Linked DNA regions of Homo sapiens: region 1 is linked to region 2. Evidence: promoter capture Hi-C in 16 types of primary human blood cells and fetal thymus (Javierre and others, 2016). All regions are on one chromosome and are shown on one strand. Each heading gives the region's core, a stretch centred on a gene start or on the middle of the fragment in contact. The rest is flanking DNA. Distances are from core to core; before and after follow the strand shown.

The links. Contacts are between HindIII fragments. The CHiCAGO score rates a contact against its expected background, and 5 or more counts as called.
Region 1: a fragment that was not itself captured here is called in contact with the fragment with the promoter of TLE6 in region 2 in 1 of 17 cell types (M2 macrophages); the score reaches 6.5 in M2 macrophages.

The regions. Positions count from the first base shown.
Region 1 is chr19:3,233,996-3,241,034 of GRCh38, reverse strand. All of the region lies in intron 1 of CELF5 (CUGBP Elav-like family member 5), which reads right to left. Among named protein-coding and RNA genes, the nearest start is that of CELF5, 13 kb to the right of the region's middle. The HindIII fragment of the contact is 7,916 bases long and covers 1-5,810 here.
Region 2 is chr19:2,974,860-2,981,127 of GRCh38, reverse strand. TLE6 (TLE family member 6, subcortical maternal complex member) reads right to left here and starts at 3,564. Exons shown (of 17, transcript NM_001143986.2): 1 at 3,518-3,564; 2 at 2,844-2,930; 3 at 946-1,028. The coding sequence starts at 2,894. RefSeq lists a silencer at 3,533-3,842. The HindIII fragment of the contact is 27,309 bases long and covers 1-4,161 here.

The sequences.
Region 1 (7,039 bases), core at 603-3,102, 260 kb before region 2:
TGCACACAAATCTCTCGAGACCCAAGGGTACCAAGGGTACATTGGGGATCAAGGTGGGGGATCCTTGGGGAACATGAGATCTGCTCAATGGATAAGTTTCTCCAGCCCGGGCAGCTGGGGACCTCAGCCCAAAAGGACACTCCAGTCTCCAGCCCAGGAAAATGCTCTTTTTTGGGAAGTGATTCTCTGTGATCCTCCTGCTAGGAGGAGGCAGAGCCTGACACTCCTGTCCCCTCCACACCCTGTGTGGTCAGCCCGGGCCAAGAGAAAGGCAGGGCTGGGGACGCTCTGAAGGCAACCTGGTTCTGCTTGGAGACGGCTTCCTGAAGGATGATTCTTGGAGCTGGGGCCATAGAACAAGAGCCTGCCTGGTGTGTGGAACATAGGCTTTCAGAAGTGTGTGGTAGGGCCGGGCGCAGTGGCTCACGTCTGTAATCCCAGCACTCTGGGAGGCCGAGGCAGGTGGCTCACCTAAGGTCAGGAGTTCAAGACCAGCCTGGCCAACACGGTGAAACCCCCTCTCTACTAAAAATACAAAAACTAGCTGGGTGTGGTGGTTCATGCTTGTAGTCCCAGCTACGTAGGAGGCTGAGGCACAAGAATGACTCTTGAACCCGGGAGGCAGAGGTTGCAGTGAGTTGAGATTATGCCACTGCATTCCAGCCTGGATGACAGAGTGAGACCCCATCTCAAAAAAAAAGAAAGAAAGAAAAAGAAGGGCCAGGTGCAGTGGCTCATGCCTGTAATACCAGCACTTTGGGAGGCAGAGGCAGGCGGATCATTTGAGGTAAGGAGTTCAAGACCAGTCTGGCCAACATGATGAAACCCCGTCTCTACTAAAAATACAAAAATTGGCTAGGTGTGGTGGCGTGCACCTATAATTCCAGCTACTCAGCTACTCAGGAGGCTGAGGCAGGAGAATCACTTGAACTTGGGAGGTAAAGTTTGCAGTGAGCCGAGATCTCGCCACTGCGCTCCAGCCTGAGCAACAGAGCAAAACTCTTGCCTCAAAAAAAAAAAAAAAAGTGTGTTGCAGGAGATGGGGGATGCCATTGGAGGGGACAGATGAGGGTGAAACAGGCAAAGAACTGCTGGACTGATGTCAAGGGCAGTGGGGAGCCATGGAAGGTGTTTGAGCAGGGGTTGGGCATAGTCAGAGGTGTGTGCGGGAAAGAGCCTCCTGGGGCCAGCACGAAGAAGGGACTGGAGTGCAGGACAGAAGACTGGAGGCCAGTGAGGGGGCAGAGTCAAGGTCAGTATGGGAGAAGGTGAAGACTACCCCAGAGGGCCATGGGGACAAAGACAGGAAAATCTAAGGTAGGGCTTTGGTGGGGGACGAGGGGAGGGGAGGGAGGAGGCAAGGATGGCTGGGATGCACTTGGATGGTAGGGTGTGAGGATGTAATGGGTTGAATGGTGGCTCCCTGAAAAAGAGCTACATCCATCCTGAGCCTGGGCAACATAGTGAGACCCCAACTCTACTGAAAAAAAAAAAAAGTTAGCCGGGCATGATGGCTCACATCTGTAGTCCCAGGTACTCGGGAGGCTGAAGTGGGAGGATGGCTTGAGCCCAGGAGTTTGAGACGAGCCTGGGCAACACAGTGAGACCCCATCTCCAGTAAAAATTAAAAACAATTAGCCGGGCATGGTGGCACACACTTGCAGTCCCAGCTACTTGGGAGGCTGAGGCGGGAGGATTGCTTGAGCTCAGGAGTTTGCACCAGCCTGGGCAATGTAGTGAGACTTTGTCTCTAATAAAAAAAAAACAAACAGCTGGGTGTGGTGGTTCACACCTGTAGTTCCAGCTACTAAACGGGCTGAGGCGGGAGGATCCCTTGAGCCTGGGAGGTCGAGGCTGCAGCAAGCTATGATCATACCACTGCACTCCAGTCTGGGTGACAAAGTGAGACCCTGTCTCAAAAAAATTAAAATTAATTTTATAAAATTTTAAAAAAGATATAGCCACTCTGGAACCTGAAATGTGACCTGATTTGGAAAAAGAGACTTTGCAGATTTCAATAAGGAATTTGGGATGAAGTCAAGCTAGATGAAGGCAGGCCCCAAACACAAGGACAAGCATCCTTAATTTTTATTTTTTATTTTTATTTTGAGATGGAGTCTCGCTTTGTTGCCCAGGCTAGAGTGCAATGGTGTGATCTTGGCTCACTGCAACCTCCACCTACTGTGTTCAAGCAATTCTGCTTCAGCCTCCTGAGTACTGGGATTACAGGCACCCGCCGCCACACCCTGCTAATTTTGTATTTTTAGTAGAGACAGGGTTTCGTCATGTTGGCCAGGTTGGTCTCGAACTCCTGACCTCAAGTGAACCACCTGCCTCGGTCTCCCAAAGTGCTGGGATTACAGGCGTGAGCCACCACACCCGGCCTCAAGTGTCCTTATAACACAGAGGAGAGGAGACGCAGACGCACAGATGATGGAGCAGAGACCACAGTGATGCATCCATCAGCCAAGGACACCCGGAGTCCCCAGAAGCTGAAGAGGCAGGAAGGACCCTCCCCTTGGAGAAAGTGAGGCCCTACCCACACCTTGATAGCTGATTTCTGGCCTCCAGGACTGGGAGAGGCTGTTCCAAGCCCCCCAGTTTGTGGTCATTTGTTACAAAAGCCCTGGGACAACAAACCCAGGTAGGAACCCAGGAGGAGGTGCACTTTGGAAGAAAGACATGAACCCTGGTTTGGGCCCTGCGGGATCTCAGGGTTTGGGGGATATCAGAGGGAAGTACTGTCAGAAGCGTTTGAACCAGAGCAACTCCATCTTGAATAGGAGCTTGGTAACTGGGATTACAACTCTTGCCACTACTGCCCAGCTAATTTTTTATTTTTAGTAGAGAGGGGGTTTCGCCATGTTGGCCAGGCTGGGTCTTGAACTCCTGACCTCAAATGATCCATCTGCCTTGGCCTCCCAAAGTGCTGGGATTACAGGCGTGACCCATGGCGCCCGGCCAAGTTAGATATTCTCTTTTTTTTGAGACAGAGCCTCTCTCTTTCACCCAGGCTGGAGTGCAGTGGCGTGATCTCGGCTCACTGCAAGCTCCGCCTCCTGGGTTCACGCCATTCTCCTGCCTCAGCCTCCCGAGTAGCTGGGACTATAGGCGCCCGCCACCAGGCCCGGCTAATTTTTGTATTTTTTAGTAGAGACGGGGTTTCACTGTATTAGCCAGGATGGTCTCGATCTCCTGACCTCGTGATCCACCCGCCTCGGCCTCCCAAAGTGCTGGGATTACAGGCGTGAGCCACCGCGTCCGGCCTCAAGTTAGATATTCTTAATCACGAGATGAGATAGGAGGTTGGCAGAACGGTATCAAAAGATACAGGTCATAAAGACCCTGCTTATAAAACAGGATGTGGTAAATAAGCTGCCAAAACCCACTCAAACCAAGATGGGGGTGAAAGTGACCTCTGGTCATCCTCACTGCTCATTACATGCTAATTATAATGCATTAGCATGCTAAGAGACACTCCCACCCGCGCCACGACAGTTTACAAACGCCATGGCAACGTCTGCAAATTATCCTAAAAGTGGAGGACCCTTCAGCTCCAGGAACTGCCCACCCCTTTCCCGGGAAACTCATGAATAATCCACCTCTTGTTTAGCATATGGTCAAGGAGTAACCATAAAAACTGCCAACAAGCAGCCCAGGCGGCTGCTCTATGCAGTAGCTATTCTTTATTACTTTCCTTTTTTTTTTTTTTTTTTTTTTTTTGAGACGGAGTCGTGCTCTGTCACTCAGGCTGGAGTGCAGTGGCGTGATCTCGGCTCACTGCAAGCTCCACCTCCCAGGTTCACGCCATTCTCCTGCCTCAGCCTCCCGAGTAGCTGGGACTACAGGTTCCTGCCACCATGCCCGGCTAATTTTTTGTATTTTTAGTAGAGATGGGGTTTCACCGTGTTAGCCAGGATGGTCTCGATCTCCTGACCTCGTGATCCACCCGTCTCGGCCTCCCAAAGTGCTGGGATTACAGGCGTGAGCCACCACGCCTGGCCGGAGTAGCCATTCTTTATTACTTTACTTTTTTTTTTTTTTTTGAGATGGAGTCTTGCTCTGTCGTCCAGGCTGGAGTGCAGTGGCGCGATCTCAGCTCACTGCAATCTCCGCCTCCCGGGTTCAAGCGATTCTTCCACTTCGGCCTCCCAAGTAGCTGGTATTACAGGTGCAGGCCCGCCACCACACCCAGCTAGTTTTTTGTATTTTTAGTAGAGATGGGGTTTCACCATGTTGGCCAGGCTGGTCTCAAACTCCTGGCCTCAGGTGATCACCCACCTCGGCCTCCCAAAGTGCTGGGATTGTAGGCGTGAGCCATCGCGCCTGGCCTAGATTCATTTTTGTCCTTCCCCTCCCTGCCATGCCTAGCTCAGAGTCATTCAATATTCCTGAGCACCTACGATGCACCGATGGTGGTGGGGAAACAGAGACAGGGAATACATTGCTGTTCATCCTCTTCTTCTCTCCCCAGCCAGGAACCCCCCTCCCATCTCAACCCCTTTGATCCCGAACCCCCTGCATGGCAGGGGTCTCCAAGTTCTTAGTCTTTAACTCAGTTCTGTAATCTAGTGATTGGAGATAAGGATCAAAGCCAGCTCAGTACCTTTCTGCTGTGTGCTCTTGGGCCAGCCACTTAACCTCTCTGAGCCTTCACAGTCTCATCCACCAAATGGGAACCACGAGGCCACACATGCACTGAAAAGGACACAGGACCCTCCCTTCTCCACCTACTCAGCTTTGCTGCTCATCCTCTCCACTTCCTCCTCCACCTTCCTAGCCCAAAGTTCTCCCCAACTTCACTAGGAAAACCGAGACAGACGGGCTCTCTGCCCCCTTTTTACTGTCCCTCAATGCACGCATAAATGCCTTGATTCCTGTGCTGAGGCCCTGGTGTCCTCCTCCTGGACCCTATGTCAACCATGCTGCCTCCAAATGAGGTCCAGCCCTGCTGGCTGTGGCTCCTCAGCCTCCATGCTGCCTGCTCCTCTCCACAGCCTGACATATGGGGGTTCCTTGAGGCTCATTCTAGACCCCAGATCTCTCGCCCAGGCATCTTGACTCCTACGGCTTCAGTCCCCATCACTACACCAGAAATTTCCCCATCCATACACCCACCCAACTGTCCACCCATCCACTTGTCCATCATCCAATCAACCATCCTCCCACCTATTCATCCATCCATCCATTCATTCATCCATCCATCCATCCATCCACACATCCATCCATCCATCCATCCATCCATTCATCCATCCATCCATCTATCCACCCATCCACACATCCATCCATCCATCCATCCATCCATCCACCCATCCACACATCCATCCATCCATCCATCCATCCACCCATCCACACATCCATCCATCCATCCATCCATCCATCCATCCACTCATCCACCCATCCACCCACCCACCTATTCATCCACCCATCCATTCATTCATCCATCCACCCACCCATCCACACATCCATCCACCCATCCACTCATCCACCCATCCACCCACCCACCTATTCATCCATCCATCCATCCACCCACCCACCCATCTATCCTCGCGTGATGTTCAAAGCACTCTTTTAGGCACTGGTGACACAGCAGTACACACAAAGGTGAAAATCTCTGTGCTAATGAGGCTTACAGTCTATTAGGAAGGAGAAAAAGCAAATAAAATTAAAAGCGATATATATAGTATGTTAGAGGTCTTCATTTGCACAGGAAAAAAAAAAGGAAAGGAGGAAAAAGGAACTTGGAGTTCTGGGAGTGACTAGATTACAAATCCTGCCATCACAGGGGTTTCACAAAAAAAGGTGAAGCTTACAGAAGAGAAAGGAAGGAGCTATGTGAGTATCTGGGGGAAGAACATTTATGCAGAGGGCACAGCCCATGCAAAGGTCCTGGAGTAGGACCACGCCTTGCCTGTTGCAGAAACAGCAAGGAGGCCAGTGTGGCTGGAACAGAGGGAGCGAGGAGGAGAGAGGGGGCAGGGGATGGTATGAAGGGGATGAGGCAGGTCACGGGAGGACTTCAGCTTTGACTCTAAGGGAGGTGGGAGCCACGGAGGGCTGCAGGCAGAGGAGGGACGGGTCCTGACTCAGGTGCTCACAGGCGCTCTCTGGTGGCTGCTGCGGGGAGGACAGACTGTGGGGCGCGAAGGTGGGAGCCAGGGACAAGGGCACAGGGACTGCACTGGTCCAGGTGAGGGATGAGGGGGCTGGACCAGGTGAAGGCAGAGGAGAGAGAAGTGGGCAGATTCTGGAGAGGTTTTGAAGGCAGAGCCATCAGAATCTGCTGATGGAGGGATAGGAGGTGCGGTTGTTGTTGTGAGAGAGGGAAGTCAAGGGCATTCCCAGGTTTTGTCCTAGGTACCTTCAGGCCTCATCCCCAGGACACTGCACTGTGTGCCAACTGCCCAAGCCAGGTCACTGGTGTACCCTGGACCAGGGTTTCTCAGCTTCTGCACCGTGGATGCTTGGGGCCGGATCATCTGTCACCCTGGGCGCTGTGGGGTATTGAGCAGCATTCCTGGCCTCCACCCACTCGACACCACTCGCAGCCAGAAGCACCCCCAAATCATGACAACCACAAATGTCTCCAGACATTGCCAAGTGTCCTAGAATAACTCCCATTGAGAACCACATCATGGCTGGGCGCGGTGGCTCACACCTACGATCTCAATGCTTTGGGAGGCCAAGGCGGGAAGATTGCTTGAGCCCAGGAGTTTGAGACCAGCCTTAGCAACATAGTGAGATGCCAATCTCTTGAAAGAGGGAGGGAGAGAGAGAGAGAGAGAGAACGAACCACATCACTAGATCCCTTCCTCTTCCTCGCCTCCCTTGCCAAGAGCTGGTGAATTGACCTCCCCTCCTCTACCTGGGCCTCCATTTCCCTATGTGTACAAAGTTCTTCTGGTGGCTCCTAGCTCTGCTAGAGGCATGCCCTCTGGTCCTTCCCCCTAGTGGAGGGTCAGGGACAAGAATGCAAATCCTCTTGGATATAAAGACCCCACCCTCAAAGGCTGCTGGGAGAATGGGAGGGCACTGAGGG
Region 2 (6,268 bases), core at 2,315-4,814:
CTCGGCCTCCCAAAGTGCTGGGATTACAACAGGCTTGAGCCACCGCGCCCCGCCACTTTCTTCAATTTTTTTTTTTTTAAACAGAATCTCACCCTGTTGCCCGGGCTAGGGTGCAGTGGTACAATCATGGCTCACTGCAGCCTCCAATTCCTGGGCTCAGATGATCCTCCTGCCTCAGTCTCCTGAGTAGCTGGGACTACAGGTGTGCACCACCACACTCAGCTAGATTTTTTTTATTTTTTAAGAGATGGCATCTCGCTATGTTGCCAAGGCTGGTATTGAACTCCGGGCTCAAGCGATCTTCCTGCCTCTGCCTCCCAAAGTGCTGGGATTACAAGTGCAAGCCACTGCACCCAGCCCATGCAGTACTTTTTTTTTTTTTTTTTTTTAAAGACCGAGTCTCACTCTGTAGCCTTAGGCTTGAGTGTAATGGTGTGATCCTGGCTCACTGCAACCCTCCGCCTCCTGGGTTCAAGAGATTCTCCTGCCTCAGTTTCCCAAGTAGTTGGGATTACAGGCACCCACCACCAAGCCTGGCTGATTTTTGTATTTTTTGTAGAGACGCGGTTTCACCATGTTGGCCAGGCTGATCTTGATCTCCTGACCTCAAGCAATCCGCCCGCCTCCGCCTCCCAAAGTGCTGGGATTACAGGTGCGAGCCACCATACCCAGCCGTTGCAGTATTTTTCAACAATAAAATTGAATGCCAACAAATCCATGTCGAACAGGAAAATCAAAATTTTAATATTTGTTGGTAATTTTGTTTAATCAAAAGCTGGGATGGGTATTGCCGGGTTCTCCATGCTGGGTATCTGCATGGCTTCCTGTTCCTGAGCCTGGCTCTTGGGCCAGCAGCCTCTAGACCACTCACTAGGACCCCCGGGAGAGAGGCCAGGTGGGGCTCCTTCCCAGCGTGAGACCTCCGGCCCCTGGAATTGCTCTCACCTGGGGAACTGCTTGAGCCGATTTAGAATGCCCTGATAATTCAGCGTCGGAGAGCTCTCAGAGTTCGAGATCCCAGGACAAGGCTGGAAAGGTCAAAGCAAGGTTACATAAAACTTACAATGCTCCAACACCCAAGACCCCCGGTCTCCACCTCAACATGGCATAGGCATTAGGTTGGTGCAAAAGTAATTGTGGTTTTTGCTTTTTTTTTTTTTTTTGGAAACCGAGTCTTGCTCTGTCGCCCAGGCTGGAGTGCAGTGGCACAATCTCAGCTCACTGCAAACTCTGCCTCCCGGGTTCAAGCGATTCTCCTGCCTCAGCCTCCCGAGTAGCTGGGATTACATGCGCCCGCGCCCCCCTCCCCCGCCCGCCCCCGGCAACACACCTGGCTTATTTTTGTATTTTTAGTAGAGATGGGGTTTCACCATCTTGGCCAGGCTGGTCTCAACCTCCTGACCTCATGATCTACCCGCCTCGGCCTCCTAAAGTGCTGGAATGACAGGCATGAACCACCGCGCCCGGCCTCTCTTATTTCAGTAAAGAGCATCTTCCATTTTGCACTTTGGCCTAAAGTCTAAAATGTTCACCACATTCTTGTGATGAAAATAGAAGCACAAAATATTTTTAAAAATAAAAGTCCGGGCAAGGTGGCTCATGCCTGTAATCCCAGCACTTTGGGAGGCCGAGGTGAGCAGAACACCTGAGGTCAGGAGTTTGAGACAACCCTGGGCAACTCAGCAAAACCCCGTCTCTACTGAAAATACAAAAATTAGCCGGGCGTGGTGGCGCGCACCTGTAATCCCAGCTACTCGGGAGGCTGAGGCAGGAGAATCACTTGAACCTGGGAGGTGGAGGTTGCAGTGAGCCGAGATCGCGCCACTGCACTCCAGCCTGGGCAACAAGAGCAAGACTCAATAAAATAAAGTCTCTTGGCCAAGTGTGGTGGCTCACACCTATAACCCCAGCACTTTGGGAGGCTGAGGCAGGCAGATCACGAGGTCAGGAGCTCGAGACCAGCCTGGCCAACATGGTGAAACCCAGTCTCTACTAAAAATACAAGAAAAATTTGGTGGTCATGGTGGCAGGTGCTTGTAGTCCCAGCTACTCGGGAGGCGAGGCAGGAGAATCACTTGAACCCGGGAGGCAGAGGTTGCAGTGAGCTGAGATTGCGCCATTGCATTCCAGCCGAGGTGAGTGTGAGACTCCGTCTCAAACATAATAAAATCATAAAGTCTCAAAACAAAATATCCCTCATCTGACTCCTTTACAAAAAAAAACGTCTGCTCAGCCCTGAGAGCCTAAATTTACAAATGGTCATCTCTGGGACGCAAAGTGCAGGGAGCGGGGATTGCTTGTAAAACATCAACCAAATACATGATGTGTTCCTGTGTTTTTATCACATATGTGATTAGATGCTACATTTTTTTTTAGATGGGATCTCACTGTCACCAAGGATGGAGTGCAGTGGCACCATCATAGTTCACTGCAGCCTCAAACTCCTTGGGCTCAAGCCAACCCTCTGCCTCAGCCTCCCAAGTAGCTGCAACTACAGGCCCACGTCACTAGGCCCAGCTGATTCTTCTAGTTTTATTTTTTACAGAGACAGGGTCTCACTACGTTGTCCAGGCTGGTTTCAAACTCCTGGGCTCAAGTGGTCCTCCTGCCTCGGCCTCCAAAAATGTTGAGATTACAGTTGTGAGCCACAGTGTCCAGCCTACACTTAATTTTTTTTAAAAAACACGGCTCCTTGGCACCTGTCTTGAGTGTAGCAGCGACCAGTATTGTCTTCAGCTGCGAGGCCTGGGCGGGGCCAGCCCAGGTCACAGGTGGAAAAGGGGCAGAACCACATTGGGCCCGGGTTTCCCTTGAGGGCTGATCCCACCACATGCCCTCCTCACCGAAGTGCTTTTCGGGGGGCCCTTGGGTCTGGGCTGGTCCCTAGAGGTCATCTTCAAGGCAGTAGCCTCCAAGACTTTAGCCAGAGTCTAAAACAACAAGGAGACGGCAGGTCTTGAGGGACAGAAAATAAGGCAGTGCCAGGGAAGCAAGGCACCCGTTACCCCACCCGCACCTCCCAGTTTGGTAAGTCTCCAGGGACCCAATCCTGCGGTTCTCCCATGCGTTCCCTAGGTCCTGTCCTCACTTATCAATGCCTCCAGCTGCCCAGATTCATGGGGGCGGGGACCCAGAAAGAACTGAGCCTTGCCTCCCAGGCCTCACCCTAGGAGGCTGGGGTGGATAGTGCACATACACTCCCTGCTGGGGGCAGTCAGGGACGGGGGAGCCCAGGGAAGGTCGCCAAAGCTCAACCTTAGTTTTGAGACAATTTCCTAAAGCGCAGGGAGATCACTAGAAAGGGGTTTTGAAGGATGACTAGGAGTTAGCCAGGTGCATTAGGCGGAATTCATCAGACAGAAGAAACGACCTCTCTCCACCTCCATCCCTGCTGCAGCACCCAGCTTCTTCCTTGCCTCAGTCCTGCCCCTCCACGCCCCTGCAGCCCCTTCCCCGGCCGGGAATCCTGGAGTCCCCCCAGCCCCCTAGAACACGCCTGGCAACTCACGTCCCTCACCGGGCGGAAGCTGCGGAGGTCAGCCAAGTTCAGGCCAAGAGGAAACTCCTCCTTCCCCCACCGGGGGCCATTTGACCCATCGGGCCCCGCCTCGTCCCGCCTTGTCCCCGCCCCGTCCCGCCCAGGCCCCACCCAGCCGCCACCTGGACCGCGAAGCAGATCAATGAAGGCGCAGTAGCTGCACGTGGGTTCGGGCTCCGGGGGGGGCAGGCCTCTGGCGGCGCCGGCCAATAGCGAGGCCGTTTACGCACGTGGGTCGCGTACGCCCTCCCTGATTGGTCGGCTCTCCCCGGCCGCCGGCCATGCTGTCACTCAGCGAGCCGGGAGCCTCTGCTTTACCCTTTCGGTCCCGCTGCCGGGAAGGGCGGACTTGCAGAGCTATAGGCAATTTGGGGTCCCAGCGGGGGCGGGGATATTTAGGAGGGCGTGGGGCTTGAGGCTCAGAGGCTGGAACTTGGGCAGGGATAGGTGGCGAGTAGTTGCATTGTTTTACGCATTTTTAGCCTTGTCCGGAAGTGGCTTATGGCTGGAGGTGAGGAGTGGGAGGTGGGTGGGTTCAATCTTTAGCGCTGTCACCCCAATTCTTAGATACGGGCTAATTACATTTTCCTCAATATTAAATAACGTGCAATGCAAACGAAGCTTCAAGTCCTCTTTCTGGAGCCAACTTACTGGGTCCCCTTGATGGTCCCAGCCCCGGGCTATGCATTTATCACCGAATTTTCCCAACTGCTCTTCCAGCCCAGTGACAAAGGCTCTGAGAGCAGAAAGCGGGACAGCAGAGGCCCTGAGGCTGATACAGTATTGCCGGATGCAAGCGCGGGGTGGGAGAGAGTGGTGGGTATTCCAGACGGAGGGAATAGCGGAACCTCTCAGGCAGAGCTGGGCTGGTTACAGGAGCAGCCAGGGAGGCTAACGGGGCTGCGTGCACTCCGAACAGGCCTGGGATGATTTCCGAGAGGTAAGTGGGTTGCTGCAGAGCGAGAGAAACCTGCTGTGTGGGGTCGTGGGGATAGGAGTAAGGGGATTTCGGAGTTTTGTTTTGGCCTATTCAAAATATGAAGCCAAGTCACCATGGCTCACACCTGTGATCCCAGCATTTTGGAAGGCTGAGGTGGGAGGATTGCTTGAGGCCAGGAGTTGGAGACCAGCCTGGGCAACACAGTGACACCGCGTCTCTACAAAAAATTTAAAAATTAGCCAAGTGTGGTGGTCATGCACCTGTAGTCTCAGCTACTGGGGAGGCTGAGGCAGGAGGATGGCGTAAGCCCAGGAGGTTGAGTCTGGAGTGAGCTATGATCGTGCCACTGCACTCCAGTCTGAGCAACAGAGCAAGACTCCATCTCAAAAAAATATATAGCTATAATATATATAAAGTATATATATTATATATATAGTGGTCAAGCTGCAGTTCTGGAGTGAGAGCCCGTTTCTTTCTGTTTGGCCCAGGACCTGGTACTGGCATTAGCAGTTCACTCTGCCAGGGACAGTCTCTCTCAGACAGCCACCGGCTGGCTCCTTACTCCCTCAGCTCCCTACTTAGAAATCACCACGTTGGGCCAGGTGCTGTGGTGCACGCCTGTAATCCCAGCACTTTGGGAGGCAGAGGTGGGTGGATCATCTGAGGTCAGGGGTTCGAGACCAGCCTGGCCAACATGGTGAAACCCCAGCTTGGCCGGGTCACACCTGTAATCCCAGAACTTTGGGAGGCCGAGGCGGGTGGATCACGAGGTCAGGAGATCGAGACCATCCTGGCTAACACGGTGAAACCCCATCTCTAATAAAAAATACAAAAAAATTAGCCGGGCGTGGCGGTGGGTGCCTGTAATCCCAGCTACTGAGGAGGCTGAGGCGGGAGAATGGCGTGAACCCGGGAGGCGGAGCTTGCAGTGAGCCAAGATTGCGCCACTGCACTCCAGACTGGGCGACAGAACAAGACTCTGTCTCAAAAAAAAAAAAAAAAAAAGAAAACCCCAGCTCTACTAAAATACAAAAATTAGCCAGGCATGGTGATAGGCACCTGTAGTCCCAGCTACTCTGGAGGCTTAGGCAGAAGAATCACTTGAACCTGGGAGGCGGAGGTTGCAGTGAGTCGAGATTGTGCCACTGCACTTCAGCCAGGGTGACACAGCAAGACTCTGTCTCAGAAAAAAAAAAAAAAAATCACCACATCAGGCCAGGCGTGGTGGCTCACGCCTGTAATTCCAGCACTTTGAGAGGCCGAAGCAGGAGATCACTTGAGGTCAGGAGTTCCAGACCAGCCTGGCCAACATGCTGAAACCCTACCTCTACTAAAAATACAAAAATCAGCCGGGCACGGTGATGCACATCTGTAATCCCAGCTACTTGAACCTGGGAGGCAGAGGTTGCAATGAGCCAAGATGTCGCCATTGCACTCCACCCTGGGCGACAGAGTACTCTGCCTCAAAAGAAGAAAAGAGTTCATGACCAGCCTGGCCAACATGGCAAAACCCCATCTCTACTAAAAATACAAAGGTCAGCTGAGTGTGGTGGCAGACGCCTGTAATCCCAGCTACTTGGGAGGCTGATGCAGGAGAATCGCTTGAACCCGGGAGGTGGAGGTTGCAGTCAGCCAGGATCGTGCCATTGCACTCTAGCCTGGGCAACAAGAGTGAAACTCCATCTCAAAAAAAAAAAAAGAAGGGAGGGAGGGAGGGAAGGAAGGAAGGAAGGAAGGATCTCATTGAAGAGACCTCCCAACCCTCCCTTCCCTTCCCTATATTTCCCTTT